Linked DNA regions of Homo sapiens: region 2 is linked to region 1. The links are contacts of gene promoters, found by promoter capture Hi-C in human tissues and cell types (Jung and others, 2019). All regions are on one chromosome and are shown on one strand. The core of a region is centred on a gene start or on the middle of the fragment in contact, and the rest is flanking DNA. Distances in the headings are between cores, read along the strand shown.

Region 1 (5,544 bases), core at 2,383-4,882:
TTTTTAGTAGAGGGGGTTTCACCGTGTTAGCCAGGATGGTCTTGATCTCCTGACCTCGTGATCCGCCTGCCTCGGCCTCCCAAAGTGCTGGGATTACAGGCGTGAGCCACTGCGCCCGACCGGCAAATGGTTTTAATATGAAAATAAGAATTCAAAGTTTCGTATGATGGGGCAAATATGTTGTCAATTCTTTACTCATGCCCTACCCTGTCCTGGAGGCATGTGCGATGTGGAAGAATGAGCAACCACCATCAGAGAGAGCTGCAGGGGAAGTGACATTCTGGGTCATGGCTTCTCAGCCACAGCAGGAAGTGGAGGGAGGGCTTGCTGAGCAGGCCAAGGTTTAGAGGAGTTTATTGACTACAGAAATTTGGTTTGGGAGGGTTCTGTAGGAATAGTTTTTGGAAAAGGAACAGTGGGTGTTTGAGTGAGAGTGAGTTTTGAAATGAGAAGGTAGATGATCAGAGTAATCAAGAATCACTCTGTTGAGTGAGACATTTCGGTCCCAACTGGAACTATGGGGTGAATAAATTTCATACTTCAGCCTCTAAAGCTAGTGGAAAAACTATTTTCAGTCCAGGGAACAAGCTGTGGTCTCTGCTCAGGGTAGCAAATAGAATATAGAGAAATTTTGTTAGGAAGTGGGGTTGGGAGAGTCAGCCACAAACCAGGCTATTGGAGACACCGGCATTGTTTAAACTGTAGGTGGAACTTAGCGTGAAGTGAAAAACTTGAACTTTAGTTGGTTTTTCTTTTTTTTTTCTTTTTTTTTTTGAGACGGAGTCTCGCTCTGTCGCCCAGGCTGGAGTGCAGTGGCCTGATCTCAGCTCACTGCAAGCTCCGCCTCCCAGGTTCACGCCATTCTCCCGCCTCAGTCTCCAGAGTAGCTGGGACTACAGGCGCCCGCCACCACACCCGGCTAATTTTTTGTATTTGTAGTAGAGACGGGGTTTCACTGTGTTAGACAGGATGGTCTCGATCTCCTGACCTCATGATCCGCCTGCCTCGGCCTCCCAAAGTGCTGGGATTACAGGCGTGAGCCACCGCGCCCGGCCAACTCTAGTTGGTTTTTCTTTTCTTAGCTGTGCAGCAGTCTGATCGTTTAGTAAATACTTTCTCCCCTTTGAACATTCTGTCCCCTATTACTATTTCCAGTTACTATCTGGTTTAACAGAGAGGTAGCATGATGCTGTGAAAAGAATATAGAGTATGGTGGCCGGGCATGGTGGCTCACGCCTGTAATCCCAGCAGTTTGGAAGGCCGAGGCGGGCGGATCACGAGGTCAGGAGATCGAGACCATCCTGGCTAATATGGTGAAACCCCGTCTCTACTACAAATACAAAAAATTAGCCGGGCGTGGTGGCGGGCACCTGTAGTCCCAGCTACTCGGAAGGCTGAGGCAGGAAAATGATGTGAACCCGGGAGGCGGAGCTTGCAGTGAGCCGAGATCGCGCTGCTGCACCCAAGCCTGGGCGACAGAGCGAGACTCCGGGTCAAAAAAAATAAAAGAATATAGGGTATGGTATCAGTAGACAAGAATGTAGGCACTAGATTAAAAGTCCCAGTTCCGGCCGGGCGCGGTGGCTCAAGCTCGTAATCCCAGCACTTTGGGAGGCTGAGGCGGGCGGATCACAAGGTCAGGAGATCGAGACCATTTTGGCTAACACGGTGAAACCCCGTCTCTACTAAAAATACAAAAAAAAATTTAGCCGGGCGTGGTAGCGGGCGCCTGTAGTCCCAGCTACTTGGGAGGCTGAGGCAGGAGAATGGCGTGAACCCGGGAGGCGGAGCTTGCAGTGAGCCGAGATGGCGCCACTGCACTCCAGCCTGGGCGACAGAGCGAGACTCCGTCTCAAAAAATAAAAAATAAAAAAATAAAAGTCCTAGTTCCATAGCCAATCAGGGAGAGAATTAGCCAGGACTTAAATGCAAGATTTGAACTCCAATTTTTCCCATGCTTCACTTCAGCATCATGTAATGCAAAGCCCGACTTACTTAACTTCCCTGAGCTTCGGTGTCATCATCTGTACAAATACCTTTCTTAACAATATCTACCTTACTGGTGGTTGTAAAGATTGAGTGACAATGAGAAGCCCATAGCAGAGTGCATGGCCAGGATGTGATGCTAATATTTTTTATCATTACATAAAAAAACTACCTGGCTCTGTGACAGCACATGGCAGGTGCTCAAATGAATATCCCACCACACATGCTAGGGGCCTAAATTATCCCCCACCCCAATAATTTGTATATTGAAGTCCTAACTCTAGCACCCCAGGATGTGACTGTAATTGGAAACAGGGTCTCTGAAGAGGTAATTAAATTAAAACGAGGTCACTAGAGTGAGCCCTACTCTAATAGGACTGCTGTCCTTATAAGAAGAGGAAATTTGGACACAGACGTGCACAGAGGGAAGACCACGTGAAGTCACTGGGAGAAGGCCACTATCTACCAAGTGAAGGAGATAGGCCTCAGAAGGAACCAACCCTGCCTACATCGTATCTCTGACTGCCAGCCTCCAGAATTGTGAGAAAATAAATTTCTGTTGTTTAAGCCACCCAGTCTGTGGTACTTTGTTACGTTATGCCGTAGCAAAGGAATACAACACACACACACAAACTCATCGTACCTTTTCAATTGGTGGACAAGGGGCTCCTTCCTTCTGCTGACTAGAAACTGCTTCTTGGCCTGTTGTCCAGTGTTCTCCCACTCAAAGTCCTTACTGAAAGCCCTAAAGATGCTGTGCCTGCTGGGCTGACCATGCTGCCTTGGAGGTGGTGCTGCTCCCTTGGCTTTTGTCTGCTAAGGGGAAGGCATCCAAGAAAGCAAGACCTTTCTCTCTCTCTCTCTCTTTTATTTTTATTTTTTTTTTTTCAGACAGTCTTGCTCTGTCGCCCAGGCTGGAGTGCAGTGGCCCGATTTCGGCTCACTGAAACCTCTGCCTCCCGGGTTCAAGCGATTCTCCTGCCTCAGCCTCCCAAGTAGCTGGGATTACAGGCGCCTGCCTCCACGCCCGGCTAATTTTTTGTGTTTTTAGTAGAGATGGGCTTCCGCCATGTTGGCCAGGATGGTCTCAAACTCCTGACCCCAGGTGATCCACCCGCCTCCGCCTCCCAAAGTGCTGGTATTACAGGCGTGAGCCACCACGCCCGGCCAAGACCTTTCTCTTCTAAAGTGACTGGTGATTTGCTGACCAGAGGCGCTTGTCATGGGACCAGGGAGGGAATGCATCATTCATCAGGGTCCATTCCCGTGGTGCCTTCCGGCTATACGGAGAGGGACGCGCAGTTGGGTGTGTGGTGCTGAATGAAGGGATGAAGGAGGACTGCTAGCGTCTAAGGTGACCCTAAAAGACGAGATGACAGAAGCGATCTGGGGTGGGAGGAGGGAGGAGGGAGGCGAGGTGGCTCCTGTGAATCTCAGTACACTTTCCACTCACAGAAGTGGAAAACTGAATCTGTGGGTCAGCGGAACTGGAATCCAGATCTTTTGCAGGACGCCCTGGGGGGATGGCACGTAGCCCCCAGAGCCGTTGGCCACCGGACGGCCTCCTCGGGTGGACGGGGCAGAGCGGGCCAGCGGGCGCGTGCCCGACACGTCCACCGGGCTCTGCACCCTCCGGGCGCGCGCTCGTTCCCCGACCCGCCTCGCCGCCTGCCGGGCTCTGTGGACCCCGCGCCCGGGGCCGCGCACGCCCCCTCCGCCCGCCGGGACCCTGGGTCCGCGCACCCCGCGCCCCCTTCCCTCCCGGCGGGCGCGCGCGCTGGCTCCCGCTCCCGCTCCCGTTGGCGGCGGCGGCGGCGGCGGCGGCGGGGATTGTTTTTGTTGTCGCTGAGGCCGGAAGAGCCGGAGCCGGGTCCCTGTCCCCGGGCCGGGCGCCGCCGCCGCCCCCTGCCCAGCGCCCGCGTCTCCGCGGCGCCACCCCAGCGCCAATATTCCGGAGATCAAGCGTTACGCGGCGGCGGCGGCGGCGGCGGCGGGGCCCGGAGCGGGAGGCGCCGGGGACCGGGGCGAGGCGGCCCCCGCCGCCGCCATGGAGGCGCTGGGACCCGGTGAGGAGCGAGCTCGGGTCGGGGCGGGACCCGGGACCCGGGACCCGGGGCGGGCGGCCGGGACTTTCGCTGCCCCGTCGCCTCGCCGGGTTCGGGCCGCCAGGCCTCGGGGAAGGGGACCCGAGCCCCGCAGCACGAAGCGGAGGGAGCTGACCCGGGCCTGGGGGGCGGTGACCGCGCCCCAGCCGGCCGTTGGGTGGATCCCGAGGTCCAGGGGGGAGGTTCGGGAAGGTGACCGGCGCTGCCGGGCGGAGGCCACTCTTGGCCCCACCTCGGGGAGACGATATGTGCCCGGGGTCGCGACGAGGGTAGTTTGGGCCTCAGAAGGGGGCGATCCGCTACCCAGTGCGCGCGGAGGCCTGGCCCAGACCGGGAAAAGGGCCCCGCTGCCTACTACCAGCCGGTAGTCCTGGTTTGGGGCCGCGCCCCTATTTTTCTTTGCACTGGCAGATGGTCCAGAGCCTTCAGATGAGGAAGAAGAACTTCATCCAAACACCTCTCATGATCTCTGAAGGTCAAGGGACAAAATGCCCACCCTTTCTGAAAGGCCCTGATGTCCCAAAGAACATGGTCCTGTGCCTCTGTCACTCAGTCTGTGTGTTAGTCTCAGAGTGGTCTGAGCCAGCCTTTGAGTGACACAGGAGTTGCCAGTCAGTCTGCTCCACCACAGGCTTCAATGCCCTGAGTTCTCTTCTAATTGGGTTATGAGTGGTTGTGAGGATCAAATGAAGGAGAAAGTGCTTTGGAAACTAATTTGTTGTGGATATGGATGGCCTCTGGTTATTTCTCTCTATCCAAACCAGAAGAACCATTCCAGGCTGTAACAAGTGTCCTGAGTATTGGGGCCTGGTGCTTCCACCTCAAAGCCCAACAGGTTTCTAATGCCTTGGCTAAGTAGCTCAGTGTTTAGGGGCTGTGGTGGAATTCACTTTAATATTCAAACTTTACCTACATAATGAACTTAGTCGTAGAGTGTTTCATCTTTTTAGTGCGTAGAAAATTCGAGTTGCCATTTGAGTTTGGAAACTTGGCACGTTTGTTTACTTAGCACTTGTTTGCATAGCTGAGTGATTAAGCCCCACCCTAATTTGCTTCTTAAAGTATTGTTTAAAGGCCCTCATAATCAAATTTCATATGCCTTTTAAAAATAAATTGGCTTGCCGCATTAATATTGTTTGATAAACTTCAGTGTATTATGCCAGGTTAACTTCAGATATGTCCCCTGGCTAAAGACATGCTCAGGTCTTTAGGAATGTAACAGATTCAATCTAGTAATGTAATAGTTGTATGACCCTGGGAAAATTACTCAATTCCTTTGAACTTTCATTTTCTCGTCTATAAATTGAGGGTAATAATAAGTATGTTCTGTAAGATTGTTGAGAGAATGAAATGAGAGTATATGATAAGTCTTATTGTAGAGACTAGTGCCTATAGATGCTCAACAGATGTTTCTTCCCTCCCCCTAGTAATTCATAATTGAAACAACTGTTGC
Region 2 (6,104 bases), core at 3,251-5,750, 360 kb before region 1:
TTTGTGACAGACACTGTGCTAAGTGTTACATGCATTCTGTTACTACAAGCCAGTGAGAAAGGTGTTATCAGGGTCATCTCCATTTTACAGAGAACAACACTGGGGCTTTGTAAGAGGGGTTAAGTAACTTGCCCAAGGTCACACAGTTGATTATGGCAGAGCCAGATCCCAACCCTGTTATGTCTGACTACAAAGTCTGTTCTTTTTAAAATGCCCTAAGCTGCCCCAGCTAACAAAAGAACCCATTCCTCCAGCAAGAAGACCCATACTCTCCATCTAACTGGAGGATGAGACAAATGGGGATTTGGTATGGCTACATTCCTGCTGTCCACCTTTTTCCAGCTAAGACTGCTGGGTTTGTGACTAGTTTACTTGAAAGACAAACCACAATGCTTTGTTAATGTAAATTGTTGGACAGCATCACAACATAGCCAAAACAATTATGATGACAACAAAAAGATCTTACACTGTAGTATGGCTGCTATGAACTTATATTACTCCATGCCCAGAATCTGTTTGCTGATTGTCAATTCCTGTCCAAGATAGGCCACATGTGAACTCACATCTGGGTAGTACCAAGTCTGTTCTATGCCTTAGCCTTAATTTTTAGTAGCCTGCCCCTTGAGCTCCATGTGAGTTTTACAATTAGAACCTTCTAAATCAGTGAGTCACACTGGTTTACAGGTGTGACCAAGATATTGATCCCCTCATCATGCAGTGTGGCTGGGTGGGACCTGGGCATCCTAGAGGCCCTGGACCAGTTGCTTCCAATACAAGCAGCCTTCTCTGTTTATCCCAAGGTGCCCTATAAATGGTATCATTTTCCAGGCATGCATGACATAAAATCTGAGAAGTACTGCCACAGACTTTCTAAAAGCTTGCTGCACAGTGGGATTAACAATGGGGCATTATCAATTCCAGAAACAAACAAACAAAAAAAAACTTTTGCCATAAAGGATGTGTGGTCCGTTGCCCATTATCTTCTCCCAGTTACCTAATTCATGCTTACAGTTTCAATTTCGGTCTATATATCAATAACCCTCAGATCTTTATCTCCTTTCCCCACATCTCTCCTGAGTGACCAGTCTATATCTGCAAATACTTGTGTGAATATCTACCCCAGAGCTTCAACAGATACCTCAAATCCAACAAGTCTCAAAATCAACTCATAACCATTAATTGCACACTATGTGTGAGGGACTATACAAACATTAACTTATTTAATCCTCATAACAATCCTATAAATAGGTACTAGTATTTTCACAGATAGTAAAACAGGTTCAGAGAGGTGAAGTAACTTTCCCACAGAGCTAACACTAGTAGGGCAGGGCTCAGAAGCTGGGTCTAATATAAGGGCCATGTTCTTTCCTACTGTAAAATACTATTTTCTTCCAATCACATGTTCTTCCTGAATTCCTTAACTAAGTCAATCCAGTACAAGCCAGAAGCTCAGGGAAACCCAGAAGCTTCTCTCTTGCTCATGCCCCCTATGCAGTGCTGGTGAATCTGAGCAACCTGTCAACAGTGCTCTTACCAGCACTCTTGCTAACATCTTTCCACTGCTTGCCAGCCAATTCCCGCCAGCTTGGATCAATCAAGCAGCCATTTGCCCTGTTCCTACTCCCAGGCTGCTGAGTATACTTATCCCTAATCGTGCTATCTCTGACCTAGTGAGCCCTGACTGTAGATTAAATTCACCTGGGGAGCTTTTCCATTCTAGGTACCCAGACCCCACTCCAGACCAACTGAACTATAATCTCTGGGGCTAAGGCTTGGGCAGTGTTATGTTCAGACAACCTCCGCAAGATTCTATTGTGTGGCTGGAGTTGGGAACCACTGCTCTCACCTCATGTTTCCAACTTGGCTGGTCCCCCAGATCTGCCTCCATTTATTACCCATCCCCTATCTCCACCATCTCCTTTTCCTCTCAGTCTATACAAATGCTCACAAACTTCCTATTTTAAAAAGATGTTCATGTTCCACAAGGACCACAATGAAAAAAAATTTTTAAAGATATTCTTTCAATCCTACCTCCCATATTATTTTCAGCACCAACTTCCTCAAAAAGGTGTTATACTGACCATCTCTGTATCCTCAAACCATGAAATCTGTCCTCTGCCTCCAACATCTAAGTAAAATGCTCTCACTATAGTTGCACTGATCTACTAATCACAAACCCATAGGCCTACTTTGTGTTCTCACCACACCTCCATCCCTGTAGCATCTGAATCCTTTGGAAGCACCCCTTTTGCCAGATCACCCCTTAACTTCCAGCAGACTACTCTCATTTGGTTTTCCTCCCACCTGATTGCTGTTTCTTAGTTTCTTTTGCTACCTCTTCTTTCTCTGCCTCCTCCTTAAATAATGATGCCCTTCAGAGTTGTGTCCTTATCCATCTTAGCTCTCTCCTAGTGAGACTCACCCGTTCTCATGGCTTTGGCTCCTGCCTGTATGCAGTAACTCCTATCTCGGGCTCTTCCTTCCACAAGTTCCAGCCTTTACTTGTGGCTATCTGACGGAACATCTCCTGACGCAGCCAGTAAGACACCCCAAATTCAATCATCCATACTGGTTTCGCCTGCCTTCCCAATCTCAGTTAATGACCTGAACCATCTATCCAGACATCCAAACCAAAAGCCTCACATTTGCTATCTCACTCACCTTCATTCGTAAAGGGCCAGGTACTACTGAATTACCACTGAATTTCTTTTAATTTCTTCTCCTCTTCTTCCACTATCTTAATTCAGGTTTTATTACCTTTTCACTGGACTAGTCCAGAAGCTTCCTGAATGGTCTCCCAGCCTTTGGTCTCTCCCTATTTTAGACTAGCTTCCACACTACTGATCTTTCTTTAAAAAAAAAAAAAAAAAAATCAAATTATGGAAATTCCTTGCTTTTAAAAACAAAACAAAAACTTCACACACATAAAACAAACCAACTTGGATCTGCCTACCCAAACTATTAAAACTAAGATCCTCAGCTTGCATATAACTGTTCTCAATCTCCACTGCCAGTCTTGTCTTCTACCACATCCTGGGGCCACTAAGCTTGAACCAAGTGACTTCTTCTGGAAGAAACTGTGTACTTTCATACCACAGGGCCATTGCTCAATGCTGTTGCCCTGTTCTGAATTTCCTCCCCATCCTCCCATGCCTGGTCAATATAAGTTTCCTTTTCCCCTTTTTTTTTCTTTTTTTTTTTTTTCTTGAGACAGTCTCACTCTGTCTTCCAGGCTGGAGTGCAGTGGTGTGATCAGAGCTCACTGCAGCCTCAAACCCCTGGGCTCAAGTAATTCTCCTGCCTCAGCTTCCCAAATAGCTTGGACTACAGGCGAACCACACTGCACCTGGCTAATTTTTAAATCTTCTGTAGAGGTGGGGTCTTGTTATGTTGCCCAGGTTGAAGTTTTCTTTATTCTAGAAAAATCTTTGGATTACTCCTACCCCAACTCTCCTAGAAGAATTCATTGTCCTTGCCACAGTGTTCCACAATGCCGCTTGTTGTACCAAACCCACACCGTACTAATGTTCCATATTTACTTATCTCCTCTACTAGACTGTGGTTGTCAAAATAGTTGACCTCCTACACCCTGGAGCCCTGCTGAAGTGTCTAGTACAGCGCATGTCACCTGCACTAGAAGACAGAAGTCTATTGAAGAAAAGGCAACATGAGTGTTTCTGGTCAGAAAGCCCACCTTTCTCTATCTAACCACACTATTTCTCAGCTCATTCAAGAAGCCCGGGGGCCCCTGGTCTTTCCTTTGCTCCCCCCATTCATTGCCCAGCTACCTCTGCTCCGTGTACGGCTGAATCTTTTGCACAATGATGTCGGAATCCAGCACCCCCAGGAGGACCCCAATCTGGCGGATGAACATCCCCTTCAGCCTCTCAGTTAGCTGACTGACGTTGATATCCAAGATGATCTCCACCAGGTTGTTTTTCCTGGGATCTGGAAAGCATGTGGATCAGTCATGGCTTTAGAAGTAGGAGAGTAAACACAGACCTGCCACTGTGCATTTGCTTTGGCACAGGAGAGAAAGGAGTGAGAACATTCAGATATCCTTCAAATGGAAAGGGACAATAGTGAATTCCTGATCGGGCAATCTGGGGCTGGCTTAGAAAGCTTCTAAAGCACTCCTGCTCTCTATACCAACCTGAGAATTCCCACACATGTGCTGGGGATAAGGCTGAAGCAGTGATGCAATGAGGGGTGGGGAGTAATGACGGGAGTGGGGAAGAGAGAAACACTTAAACATTTGTTTTAAAAGCCTCTGTGCAACTGGCAGTGCTGAGCAATCCAGGCCAAGTGGGGGTTATTAAGCAATCTCTCCTGACTCACATCTGATTTTCAGTGCCTCGCTGTATTTTGTGCACAACAATGGGAGGAAAAGTGTCCATCTCAACAACCTCCTCAATAATGGGAATGCATCCGTCCCTCCAGGTTTAAATACAGTTAACAAAAGAAAATCCAGTCAGCCAAGACACAAGGATTTCCTTAGAGCCACATCACAGCTGCACTATCTTTGTATAACTCTAAAACGGTGAGGCTATCATGTTTTACTTTTGAATATGTCCTAAAGATGTTCTACATTTGGAATTTCAAACTGATTGTTTGGAATGCCTTATTTACATACTTGAATGCACCACTTGCCTGTTCTGATGTATAATTTGCATAATTAGTAGACTATCTGTGATCTGACTTTAAACACCAAAGAGATTTTATAGTGTCTCAGCTACTGTCCTTCCTAGAGGCAGGACAAGGACTGGAAGACCTCCCAAGATCCCTTCCTGTCCAAAACATCCATATATGAGGTTGGCCTAGATAATAAAGAGTAGGTTTAAAGTTAATACCATTTCATCAGAAGCTCAGGAATTTATACAGCTCTATCCCACCTCCATACTCAGTGCCTCCCTATCACCATATTAATCTCAAAGCAAAATAAAAACATGGTTCTATTTAAGAAGAAAATTTTTATTTCTGCAAAGCTGAAAAATGTAAAGAGCACTATTACTTTACCTTCCCTGGATTATCAGACAAGGCCTGAGGCTCAACTTATAAAAATAAATTGTTTTCTGCATCTGGATGCTGATGAGACATCATGACTCAAGCTATTCCCATGCTCAGATTCCCAAGCACTCTGAGCCCTCTCTCATCAGTCACGAGGAGAGGAGAAAGTGCTGGACTACGAGCACAAAGGCCTGGCTCTGACACAACTGCTGTGTGACACTGAGCAAGTCCTGCCCTCTCTGAGTTTGTTTCTCCATCTGAGATGAATAGGGGGAGGTCTGTATTTCTGCATGGGTAGGAGGTATTATTGGAACAGACGGTCTCTATGGATTTTTCAGCTTGGGGTTTCTCGATTATTTTTAAAGCTGGACATGCCATCTGGCTCTGTCCATGCTCGGGGAAGGGGATCTCAGGATAGAGGCCTTGATTGGCTGATTCAGCAATTCTACTCAGCCTCATCACTAAATGAACTCACCAGGTTTCACCTCCACAGTGGTCCGGTCTGTGTCACTCTCACCCTTTGCATCGGTCACTTTCAGGTGAAAAGTGTAGGTTCCCTCAACCAGGTTTGAAAGAAAAAGGATAGGGTGATGGTCAGAGTGATTTAACACCTCCTGTAGGGTTGAACAACATGGCTATGTTACAGAACAAAATGCCATTCCTTTCCTGGAGTCAGTTGCTGCTTTCACCATAACTAGGCCCTTCAGGGCTGAACTGTTTCAACCTTGGGCAGTTCCTGATACGGAACAGCATTGCAGCCTACAACTGCTAGGATCAGGGAAGGGAAACCCATTCTGTGCTATACTAGCTTACAGAATGACCCTAAGCAAGTCACTTCACCTCCCTGGATTTCAGAGAACAATCTGGGTTTGATATAAGGGACCACTTGATTAAAGCATATACTGGAACGCGTGGCTCCTCCTCCTCCCCACTCCTGTGTAGCTCTCCAGCTCCTAGCACACTTACCCCTGCTGCTGGGCTCCCCTCATCTCGAGTCCAGAGGTAGCTGACTATTCCCTTGTCATCTGAGGACTTAGAGCCATCCAGCTCTGCTGTGCTCGTGGGTAGGGTAATCACCACATTCCCAGTTATCTTGG

Evidence for each region. Contacts are between HindIII fragments. The study calls those that stand out against the background at their distance.
Region 2: a fragment that was not itself captured here is called in contact with the fragment with the promoter of AGO4 in region 1 in 1 of the 25 tissues and cell types used here (heart right ventricle).

What each region holds. Positions count from the first base shown.
Region 1 is chr1:35,804,384-35,809,927 of GRCh38, forward strand. AGO4 (argonaute RISC component 4) reads left to right here and starts at 3,633. Exons shown (of 18, transcript NM_017629.4): 1 at 3,633-4,052. The coding sequence starts at 4,034. It overlaps CLSPN-DT (CLSPN divergent transcript), which reads left to right. Exons shown (of 3, transcript NR_199050.1): 3 at 2,362-2,557. RefSeq lists enhancers at 340-389, 2,807-3,306, 4,406-4,685 and silencers at 3,516-3,725, 4,006-4,255. The HindIII fragment of the contact is 21,017 bases long and covers 1-5,544 here.
Region 2 is chr1:35,444,385-35,450,488 of GRCh38, forward strand. It overlaps KIAA0319L (KIAA0319 like), which reads right to left. Exons shown (of 21, transcript NM_024874.5): 14 at 5,974-6,104; 15 at 5,483-5,621; 16 at 3,789-3,948. Among named protein-coding and RNA genes, the nearest start is that of ZMYM4-AS1, 81 kb to the left of the region's middle. The HindIII fragment of the contact is 6,659 bases long and covers 1,172-6,104 here.